3 separate regions of the Homo sapiens genome follow, and all the other regions are linked to region 1. Evidence: promoter capture Hi-C in human tissues and cell types (Jung and others, 2019). All regions are on one chromosome and are shown on one strand. The core of a region is centred on a gene start or on the middle of the fragment in contact, and the rest is flanking DNA. Distances in the headings are between cores, read along the strand shown.

What was found. The method cuts DNA at HindIII sites, captures the fragments that hold promoters and counts their contacts. A contact is called where the count stands out against the background at its distance.
Region 2: a contact is called between a fragment that was not itself captured here and the fragment with the promoter of DTNBP1 in region 1, in 1 of the 25 tissues and cell types used here (dorsolateral prefrontal cortex).
Region 3: a contact is called between a fragment that was not itself captured here and the fragment with the promoter of DTNBP1 in region 1, in 1 of the 25 tissues and cell types used here (dorsolateral prefrontal cortex).

The regions. Positions count from the first base shown.
Region 1 is chr6:15,660,623-15,664,277 of GRCh38, reverse strand. DTNBP1 (dystrobrevin binding protein 1) reads left to right here and starts at 1,250. Exons shown (of 10, transcript NM_032122.5): 1 at 1,250-1,464. The coding sequence starts at 1,409. RefSeq lists a silencer at 1,254-1,763 and an enhancer at 1,994-2,043. The HindIII fragment of the contact is 6,257 bases long and covers 1-3,655 here.
Region 2 is chr6:13,956,253-13,959,907 of GRCh38, reverse strand. All of the region lies in intron 1 of RNF182 (ring finger protein 182), which reads right to left. Among named protein-coding and RNA genes, the nearest start is that of RNF182, 33 kb to the right of the region's middle. The HindIII fragment of the contact is 5,227 bases long and covers 1-3,655 here.
Region 3 is chr6:14,163,388-14,167,042 of GRCh38, reverse strand. No RefSeq gene overlaps it. Among named protein-coding and RNA genes, the nearest start is that of CD83, 47 kb to the right of the region's middle. The HindIII fragment of the contact is 4,942 bases long and covers 1-3,655 here.

The DNA.
Region 1 (3,655 bases), core at 1-2,500:
GGCTGCTGTGTCAAGGATGGATTATAGGGGTGTGTATGGCAAAAGAGTAGAATCTGGAAGAACTGTCTGTGTTCCCATTGAAAGAGGATGGTGCCTTCGACCAGGATAAATATAGTGAAGATATAGAAAGAGAAGGAGGTTCCAGAAATACTTCAGGAGTAGAGTTGATTGGATTTGATGGGTTAATATGGGGAATGAGGAAAAGAGGGGAACCAGAGGTGATTTCAAGTGTCTTACCTTGAGCAAATTGGTGGATGGTGGTGTCATTTACTGAAACGGAAAATACAGGATGAGCAGATTAAAGGTGAACATGCAATGAATGAAATTTTCAATTTTGTGTATGTTGGTCTGAGATGCCTTTTGGATACATGTTGTATACATGCTTACATGAGTAAGCAACTGGTATGAATTGACGGAGAGGGAGGAAGGACAGGGCAGAAGATAGAGCTGTGGGAGTCATCGGTTCCTTGACAGAATTTACAGCGTGGTAATGGATAGACTCTATGCTATCCATCTATGGAACAACACATCTGGAGAAGAGAGAAGAGCTGGGGAGGCTGGACTGTAGCCTTGGGAGTGGCTATTAAAATAGGAGAAGGGGTGGAGCGGAAGGGAGAGAGGAACTATGGAGTGCTTAGCAAGAGAAGAAAGTGTTTTAAGGATGGGGATGATAAACTGCATTGAAAGCCACTGAGAGGTGGAGAAAAAATCAGGGCAGAGAAGTAATAAAAGGCATCAGCAACATGGAAGTCACTGGTGACTCGCGAAAGGCGATCACCTTTGGTGTGTAGGGCACAAAAGCCTGGGGGGGTAAAGAGAGAGTGGAAAGTAAGAATGTCGAGACAGTCGACTATTATTGCCATTTTATGAATGAAGAAACCGAGGCTCAATATTTGACTGTCTCATTCAAGGTGAAAGCCAGTGGGGTCAGATCCTGGACCTAGAATCCATGCAATGATTTGTGCACATCGCCTATTGAAGAGAGAGATCCAATTCTCTTCCAAAACGTAAAAGCCAACACTTCCCTCAAAGGAGGCTTCGAGTTAAATCATCCTTTCACGATGCCGCTTCCATTTTAAAGAAAAAAAAAAAAAAACGAGAAGGCCTGGTGCGGGATAGGAATGAGCCGAGGAGCTACTGGCCCTCTCGGTCGGGGGAAGACCCGCCCCTTTTCCGCAGCCCGAGCCCGGCGCAGTCCACTGCGGCTGCGCGAGCCTGGCGCGCGCGGGGCGGGAACGCGGAAGGGGCTGGGGTTGCGGCGCGGCGGCGAGGACCAGACCGGGGGCGGGGCCGGTAGTGGGAGTGCGGGGCGCGCGGTGACAGCGCGGGGTTGGCGGCGTGGGACCCAGGGGGCGACAGAGGCAGCAGCAGCCCGAGGCCTGAGGAGAGGAGACCGGCGGCGGCGGCAATGCTGGAGACCCTTCGCGAGCGGCTGCTGAGCGTGCAGCAGGATTTCACCTCCGGGTGGGTATACGGTGGGCGACGAAAAGGGACCTGAGGGGGCCGGGCCGCCGCCTGGGATGCCCCTGCCTCGCTCCCTTCCCCGCGCCACGGTCCAGGGTCCGTCCTGTCCCGCACCTCCCCGCCCCGCCCCGCCGAGGAAAGTAACGAACTTCCCGGCGTCCTCGCGTCGGGCGGCGCAAAGTAACTTAGGTCCCTGCGGGCCGCCTGTGACGCGCACCCCCCAGGACCGGGAGGCGCTCGGCGGCGCAGCGGAGCGCCCGGGGGGGGTGTGGGACCCTGCGGTCCTTTCCCGGCAGCATCAGCTGGGCCCTGGAGGGAAGTCATGTGAGAAGCCAGCGCGCCTCACCGCTTCCGCCCCCGCGGCACAGTGGCCTGCGCCCCTCGGCCCAGCAGACACCTGCTCGTGCGCACCTGGAGCTGGGCCAGCCACCCTCCCCGAGTCGGATCGCACCGCGCAGCAGCCTGCACCCTCCGGCCACAGCCTTCCGCGCCGCGTCTCGGCTTTCACGCCCGGCTCGCCGGCCTAACCCTTGGCAAGGCTGGCCGCCCCTCCCCGTTGCGTCCTTTCTCTACCTTTGCCGTGAGCTCAGCGCCTCGGCGAAGGAACTCCTAAGCAGGAGAAGCGACAGAACTTTAGGAATGCTTTTAATACCCAGCGGTTCCCAAACTTTGCTTAGAATCACCTGGGAACCTTTCAGAGTTCTGATGCCCAGGTCTCACCCCCTACCTGTTGACCAGAGTGCCTGGAGACGGCGTTTTAAAGATCCCCAGGGGATTCCAGTGGGCACCAACGCCTGGGAACCACAGGCCGAGACTCTGGCGCCAGATTGCCTAGGCATCCTGGCTCGACCACTAAATCAAACGTAGTTACTCAGCTGCCTTGCCTCAATGTACTGTTTCCGCTACCGTAAAATGGGGATAATGATGGTACTTAAAAGGTTATTACAAGGATTAATGAATTAATGTGTAAAACACGAAGCAAGCATCATGTCAGTATTGTTACTTAGTGCTTAATTTTAATTTTTTCATTCCTTTAAAGTGAAAAAGATCTGTCTTTGAAAAGGATCTTTCAACTTTAGCTTACAAATCCTGTTGGAGGATGCACTGAATGTGAGAACATTTCCACTCATACTGTTTTAAATTTCTCCCCCCCACCCCCCTTTTTTTTGAGATGGAGTCTTGCTCTGTCACCCAGACTGGAGTGCAGTGGCGTGATCTCGGCTCACTGCAACCGCCGCCTCCCGGATTCAAGCGATTCTCCTGGCTCCACCTCCTGAGTAGCTGGGACTAGAGGCGCCCGGCTTATTTTTGTATTTTTTAGTAGAGACGGGTTTCACCATATTGGCCAGGCTGGTCTCGAACTCCTGACCTTGTGATCCTCCCGCCTTGGCCTCCCAAAGTGCTGGGATTACAGGCGTGTGCCACCGTTCCCGGCCCACCCTCCCCCCCTTTTTTTTAAAGTGACAAGTTCTCGCTCTGTTGCCCAGGCTGGAGCGCAGTGGCGCTATTATAGCTCGCTGCAGCCTCCAACTCCTGGGTACAAGAGATCCTCCCTCCTAGGCTTCCTGAAGTGGTGGGATTATGGGTATTAGTCACTGCGCCCAGCCTCGTTTTAAATTTCTAATGAGAAAGATGTTAGCCAAAATTTTATCTTAATGGACAAAAATGTTAATACTATTTGCACATTGGGCGTTGAATAACAAACTGTCAAACGCTTGAGCACTTACCATGCGTCAATCATTTTTGTTAGTTTGGTGTTTAGAAAGTTATGGACGCTCGGAGTCATTCACTGATGGGTGTGCTTGCGTGCTTGCATTTTGTTCTCCCTATTTAGTAAAAGTACCTTCTTTTCAGAGCGTAAATTATTGTATTGAAAACTTTTTGGTGTGATGCTGAAATGGCCCATTTGTAGCATGAGAGTGGCCATTATTCTCCTGTTAGTACTTCATGGAATTCCTTGATGGCACAAGAGCCCATCTTGTAGTTACTATAACTCTAGGTCACATGGTTGCCTCAGAAGCATTCATGCTCCTGACCTTTGTAAGAAGGCATTTTACCCCGGAATGTAGATTCTGGAGTGGGCTCTGGACTGCTGGGGCACAAACCATCCTGGGAGATCAGGGTAACCCTAAACGTTTAGAGTTAGTTAAGGAGAGACATGCCAAAGGGATCTAGTTAGAACCCCTTGGAA
Region 2 (3,655 bases), core at 414-2,913, 1.7 Mb after region 1:
ATGATGACTGCCCCCCAGTTTGTGTCTGCAGCCTATCCCTTCCCTCTGAGTTCCAGAGGGCTTACAGTACCTCCATTTGTATTAACACAAACACTTCAAATTTAACAGGTCTAAGACAAATTTCAACCCTCACCTCTCACTACCACCAAATTGTTTCCTGCAGTTTTCCCCATTTTAATAAATGGCACCACCATTCTCTCAGTTTTTCAAAAACTAGGAGTCACCTTTGATTCTACATTATACCTCACTCCTCATGTCCAATCCATTGGCAAGCCAGTCAATTCAACCAAAGTATGTTTCCAATCTTCCAATTTCATTCCATCTTCATCATCAACATCCTAATCCAGGTTTTGACCTTGTTCATTGCAGAACCTTCTAATTTATCTTCATGCTTCTAATCTTGCCCCACTATAAATTATTTTCATTGCAATAACCAAAGTAAGCTTCTAAAAATGTAAATGGGATTATATCTACCATCCGTTTATTACACTTAAATCATTTTTCATTACATAGAGATTAAAATCCAAACTCTACACAGCAAGGTACCGTATAATCTGGCCTCTGCCTTCCCTCCAACCCTGTCTTGAACTTATTGTTTTCCTGCCGCCCTGGCCTTTGTTAAGTTCCATGAACAGTACAAAGTCTTTCATGTTTTAGGCTGTTTGCTCAATGTGAAATGTCATACTAATCTCATTCCTTCTTAGAGATCTTGCCTTAGTCTGTTTTGTGTTGCTATAAAGGAATACCTTGACGCTGGGTAAATTATAAAGAAAAGAGGTTTATTTGATTCAGAATTCTGGCTGGCTGGCAAGTTCAGGACTGGACATCTGCATATGAAGAGGATCTCAGGCTGCTTCTATCCATGGGAAGAAATGAAAGGGAGCCGATATCTGCAGAGATCACATGGCAAGATAGGAAGCAAGAGACAGGGGAGGTGCCAGGCTCTTTTTAACAATGAGCTCTCAAGGGAACTAACAAGAATAAGAATTCATTCACCCCCAAAGAAGAGCATTAATCTATTCATGAGAGATCTAGTCAAATTTCAACATGAGGTCTAGAAGTAACAAATATCCAAAACCACAGCAGATCTCAATATGAAGTCCTCAAGGAGGTCCTCTCCAATTACTCGTTTTCAAAATCCCTTACCCCTTATTTTCTATTATGGCACTCTGTTTACTTCCTTCAACAAACTTCAAGAAGCCCAATTTAACTTATTTGTTTGTTCTAAATTTCTACTACTAAAATGTAAATTATAAGAATATAAGAACCACTAATATGTTGCTTACCATTCTAGCACAAGCACCTATCATAAGCTAGCACAGAGTAGATAATAAATACCTGCCATATAAATATATTGAAATGTCTCCAAGACTCCTCCCACCTCTTCCTATCCATGAATGGTATACCACACCCTTCTGAGTGTGGTGAAGTCAGCACTTTGTCTTGATAAATATTCTTGAATGCTACACATTTTATAATGTAGACTTTCAGATTATAGATTTTATTATTATTATTATTATTTTGAGATGGAGTCTTGCTCTGTTGCCAGGCTGGAGTGCAGTGGTGCAATCTCGGCTCACTGCAACCTCCCTCTCCCGGGTTCAGGCGATTCTCCTGCTTCAGCCTCCCAAGTAGCTAGGACTACAGGCGCACACCACCACACCCAGCTAACTTTTGTATTTTTAATAGAGACGGGGTTTCACCATGTTGGACAGGATGGTCTCTATCTCTTGACCTCGTGATCTGCCTGCCTCGGCCTCCCAACAGATTATAAATTTAACATTCTAAAATGTCCATAAAAATATCAAATCAGATGAACTTCCCAAGAAATCTATAAACATTAAAAAAAACATAAAAGACTTATAAGTCATAGCATCTAGGAAGCTCTCAATACATGTTGAAAAAATAAAAGAATTCCATTCTTTGTCTTCATCATTTAAAATCTCCAATTGATAAATATTTGTCCACAATCAGCTTCAGGTTTAGGCTCACCAAAAGTATCTATTAATACAATTCAGAGAATAAAATTCTCATAGGATTGTTTCTCTGTAAATGTCCAGATGTCAACCTGAAGAAGTATACTTTGTCCTTAAGGCTTTTAAATTTTCCACAAATGTTTCTTTACATACTAGCAAAATAGTTATCACTACAATATCTCAGTATTCACAGTGTTCTAAAAATTACAAATACAGTTAAAGCCACAAAGGTATTATTTTTATAATATTATCCTAAAATAAAAACAAAGTCACAAACCAAAACGTTTTGCTCACTTTCCATAATTCTAAAGAATACACCATCTCTTCTCCAGCATTAATAAAAATGGCTACAACATCTCATGAGATGAAGCAGATTTCTGTTCACCAAGGTCCAACCGTACTCGGACTCAGCAAAAATGTCACCAATCCAATTAATGAAATGCCTCAATTAATAATGGGCAAAAAGGTTTTAAAAGGAAATTTAAAAACTTTCTATATTCTACCACATTTAATACATGACTTAATCCAAGCTTGACAAGAAGAAAAAGAACTATAGATTAAATTTTATTGAATTTATTTGCCCTCAGTGGCTTTTCTCAATAGGCCTTTTAGAATCAATCTTAATGAATGTGTCACTTTGCAACACAGCCACATAATGTGGCATTGTTGATTGACATATATTCAACTGTGAAGATTAGGATAAAGTAAAAGCCTGCAGTGTTTTTTAAATGAGACAAAATGATACTTACATAAAAAGAAGATTGCTAGGAAAGATAGTTTTATATTTATTGTATATTAAGTAGTTTTGCCGTGTGACAGACATTCTAAATACTCTATCCCAAAAGGCACCTATGCAAGATGGAGTCACTCTAGTTTGAATACCTCTGACAGATTCCTTGGTGTGGAAACTGTGTGGCATTTCATTCCATTCGGTCACACAGTGGACAGGTGATTTACTAGTGAAGATGTAGAACAAAGGGATTAGTACTGCCCTGGGTGTGTGTGTATGGTGGGGGGCGGGGGGTGGTGCTTGTTACTGACTATAGAGCAGGAAGAAAGTAGAGCATGGCTTCCTTTCATATCAGCCCAGGAAATGATGAATTTGGGGAAGCTTTTAAATTATAAATACATTCTTCCTATATTTGTGGTTGAGAGAAAAAGAGCTCAGCCGTTGGTATCCTTGAAGACGGTCATAATTAGTCTGGAAAACCTCCATGGAAAGAAGTGAAACTTACGACACTTTTGTAGTGAGCCAAGATACATTAAGCAGAGAAAGAACATTATAGAGTAGTCTAACGCAAAGGACAGGCCGGGAGCATTGGCTCACGCAGGTAATCCCAGCACTCTGGGAGGCCAAGACGGGTGGATCACCTGAGGTCAGGAGTTTGAGACCAACCTGGCCAACACGGTGAAACCCCATCTCTGCTGAAAATACAAAAATTAGCTGGGTGTGGTGGCATGCATCTGTAATCCCAGCTACTAGGGAGGCTGAGGCAGGAGAATCAATTGAATCTGGGAGGTGGAGGTTGCAGTGAGCGTAGATCACACCATTGCACTCCAGCCTGGATGATGGGAGCAAGACTCCATCTCAAAAAAACAAAAAAGGAAAAAAAAAAAAAGCAAAGAACAGTCAGGATATATTAGGCCAAAGCAGAGACAGTGTGCAGCAGAAGCTAAAA
Region 3 (3,655 bases), core at 489-2,988, 1.5 Mb after region 1:
GAAACGAGATAGACAAATGGTTCCGTGATGTATGAGAAACCGTAGGTGTGACACAGATGTGTGTTCTCTGTGCAAGAGAAGATTAGGGTCTTTCAAGGCTGACAGTTGTTGTCAGTGCAGTTGACATAAGTTTTGCTAATGTTAATGGAAATGTACTAGCATGATTTACCAAAGCCATTTACAGCTGTTGAGTTAGAGTGAAATAGAAAGCAATTGTAGGAAGAAGAACCCAAGAGGTTTCATACTTGTGTGTGCAAACAAATGCATATTTTAAAACTGCTATATATATAGAATTTCTCCCCTAATGTGGCAATTTTTATCTTTCTTTAAAACTATTCTTTCAGATGTTAAGAAACTACAGCAAATTCTGTGGTTCCAGAAAGCCTTCTCAAATTCTCCACCATCTCCATTTTTTTGTTTGTTTGTTTTTTTGTTTTTTTGTGTTTTTTTTTTTTGAGACAGAGTCTCACTCTGTCGCCCAGGCTGGAGTGCAGTGGCGCGATCTCGGCTCACTGTAAGCTCCACCTCCCAGGTTCATGCCATTCTCCTGCCTCAGCCTCCTGAGTAGCTGGGACTACAGGTGCCCGCCACCACGCCCAGCTAATCTTTTTGTATTTTTAGTAGAGACAGGGTTTCACCATGTTAGCCAGGATGGTCTCGATCTCCTGACCTTGCGATCTGCCCATCTTGGTCTCCCAAAGTGCTGGCGTGAGCCACCGCGCCCGGCCTACCTTCATTTTAACACGAGACTGTGCTTCTTGTGTTAACAGGTCTTTCTTTCTAACAAACTCATTTCTTATTAAATTATGTTCTTTCATCCTTCCTTATGATGCTAGAATTAGACAATCTTATCTGTGTTTAGTTACAGGAGACACAAAGTATTCTGGAATACCAAGACAGTGTTTTCAGCCACGGTGCAACAATGCCAAGGGCATGTGAAGCTTCTACAGATAAGGCATCAAATGCAGAAAGCATCAGAAGCCAGCTTTGAAGGGCACAAGGTATGGCTCATGACATTTCAATGCCATGAAATAGGGCAGCCAGTGTTTGCAAAGCAAGCCAGGTGAGTTGGTGGCATAAGGAAAATGACTTCAGAGCTGGAACCTCTCCTGGTGTGGAGAAAACAGCTGGCTGACCTTCCCCCCAGAAACTCCTCCAAGTAGCTGAACAACACAGACTGCCCGTGAAGGCTGCATTTGGCAGTAAGGGCAGTCAGCAGTCATGGCTGGGGCAACCAGAAGGATTCCAAAAAGGAGCAAATAGAGAATTTGGCAAGGATGGAAAGTGGAAGGACAGCAAACAGGTGGGGATAACTCCTTAAAGGATGAAGCTAGGTTTATTTTATATGAAAGATGAAGTGTGAAATCCTGGGCAGGCATCTTCCATGAAATGACTTAGGGTAAGCCAGAGAAAAAATGAGGGAAGAAGACAGCCCTGATGATAACTAAAGCCTCTCTCTACCTTGGTTGCTAATGTTTTTACCCTGGGGTCAGGAACAGGGTGGTTATGATGGTGTAGAATATGGTCTTTTCTCCAGTGTTTGGGCCACTCTGGCCCCCTTGCTGTCCATCATCACTATGCCCAGAGATGGGCATGGGAAAATGAGAAGCTACATGGAGGGTTGCTCAGTGGCTTTTTACTAAGCAGGGCCTTGTACAGAGAAAATTGAAGCTTCTGTGCTGGCAGAGATGAGTGTAACCCTTGCTCCCTCCTTTGAGTGATTCACACTCAAATCTCATGCCAAGCCTGTGGTTTCACAGTAACAATGATTTTAGACTCCAGGATCCCTTTATAGACCAGCCACCAGAATTCCTTTTCTCCAAGCTCCACTGCCTTTTCTTTCTGGGCACTAGCTAGCTCACCCACTCATAGTAAAAACCTCCGAAGTTTTTCACCCACTTTCGTCATGACCTCTGAGACACCTCTACTCTCCCTTATTGCCTCACCTCTCTTACTTCCCATCCTTCCTTGAAATTTTGCTTTATTCTTTGGATCGAGACATGAGGTTGCTTCTTCAGAAGCTCCAGAGGCCCCTTTATGAAGTCCTCCCCACTAGTTTCTTCTCTGTATAGTCTATAAGCATATATGGATCACCTAGTCTTTAGCCAGGGGCCAGGCCCTGGTTTCTCCCTTGTGTCATGAATCTCAGTTCATTCGTATGCAGAAAGTCTAATGCCAACAGCCTAAAGTGGAGGTCAAGCCCCTGTAACTCCAACAGAGGCAAGAAAGTCACGAAGGTGGGGTTACCAGTGGTATCAGTCGGTTACAGCTGCCATAACAAAACACCATATACTGAATGGCTTAAAACAGTGAAGCTCATTTCCTCACAGTTCTGGAGGCTGGAAATCCAAGATCAAAGTGTCAATAGGTTTGGTTTCTCCTGATGCCTCTCTCCTTGGCTTGCAAATGACCCCCTTCTCCCTGACCTCACATGACCTTTTTTATGTGTGTGCACATCCTTGGGTCTCTTCCTCTTCTTATAAGGACACCACTGCTATTGGATTAGGACCCAGCCTTATGACCTCATTTAATTTTAATTACCTCTTTAAAGGCTTTATCTGCAAATACAGCCACATTGGGAATTAGGACTTCAACCTATGAATTTTGGGGAGAATAATTCAGTACGTCACACCAGTGAAGAAGCTTTTGTCTGCAAGTAGCAGAAACTTGACTCTCGTGTTCAGGTGTCCAGAGGAAGAGAGTATCCACTGTTAGTTCAGGGACCCCACAGGTTTATCAAGAACCAGACTCAAAAGAGACCACTGAAAGCATGTTCAGTTATGTGTATAGATCCAAAGACAATGATTCTCAAGTCTAGAAATTGTTTTAAGATTTTGTACATCTATTCTGCACCTGTCACTTATTTGTGAGAACCACCAGCAAAACATTAAACCAGGCTATATTATTGCAGGATACGCAAGGGTGTTTTCACTTTATCATCACTGGAAATGACACTGACATCACTTTCTTAGTTCATTTATTCAGAACACAGTTAATAAACGGGTCCCCTGCATTTTCAAGGCCTTGAGTTAGGGGCTTTCAAGGCCATTGGTATGAATCAGAAATTAGAGTGCCTCCACCTTGTTTTGTGAATTTCAGAGCAAGATTTAGCCACTTATGCCCACAGTGAGAAGAGAATTCTGAAAATTCAGATGTTCAAGAAAATACATGTAAGCAATAAATAAATAAACAAATAAATAAATAAACTGTGACACTCCTTAGAATCAGGCAACAATCAACTGCACAATTACTTATAGTGAAGATTCACACTTCAGGGGACACCAGAAAAAGTAGTTTCTGGCCAGGCATGGTGTCTCACTCCTGTAATCCCAGCACTTTGGGAGGCTGAGGAGGGTGGATCATGAGGTCAAGAGATCGAGACCTTCCTGGCCAACATGGTGAAACCCCATCTCTACTAAAAATATAAAAATTAGCTGGGCATGGTGGCTCCTGCCTGTAGTCCCAACTACTCGGGAGGCTGAGGCAGGAGAATCGCTTGAACCTGGGAGGTGAGCAAAGATCGTGCCACTGCACTCCAGCCTGGTGACAGAGTGAGACTCCGTCTCAAAAAAAAAAAAAAAAAAAGTAGTTCCTACTCCTTTTTACTGTTTAGTGCTTTCTTTTTTCCTTTGGTCTCCCTATTTTGTTGATTTGG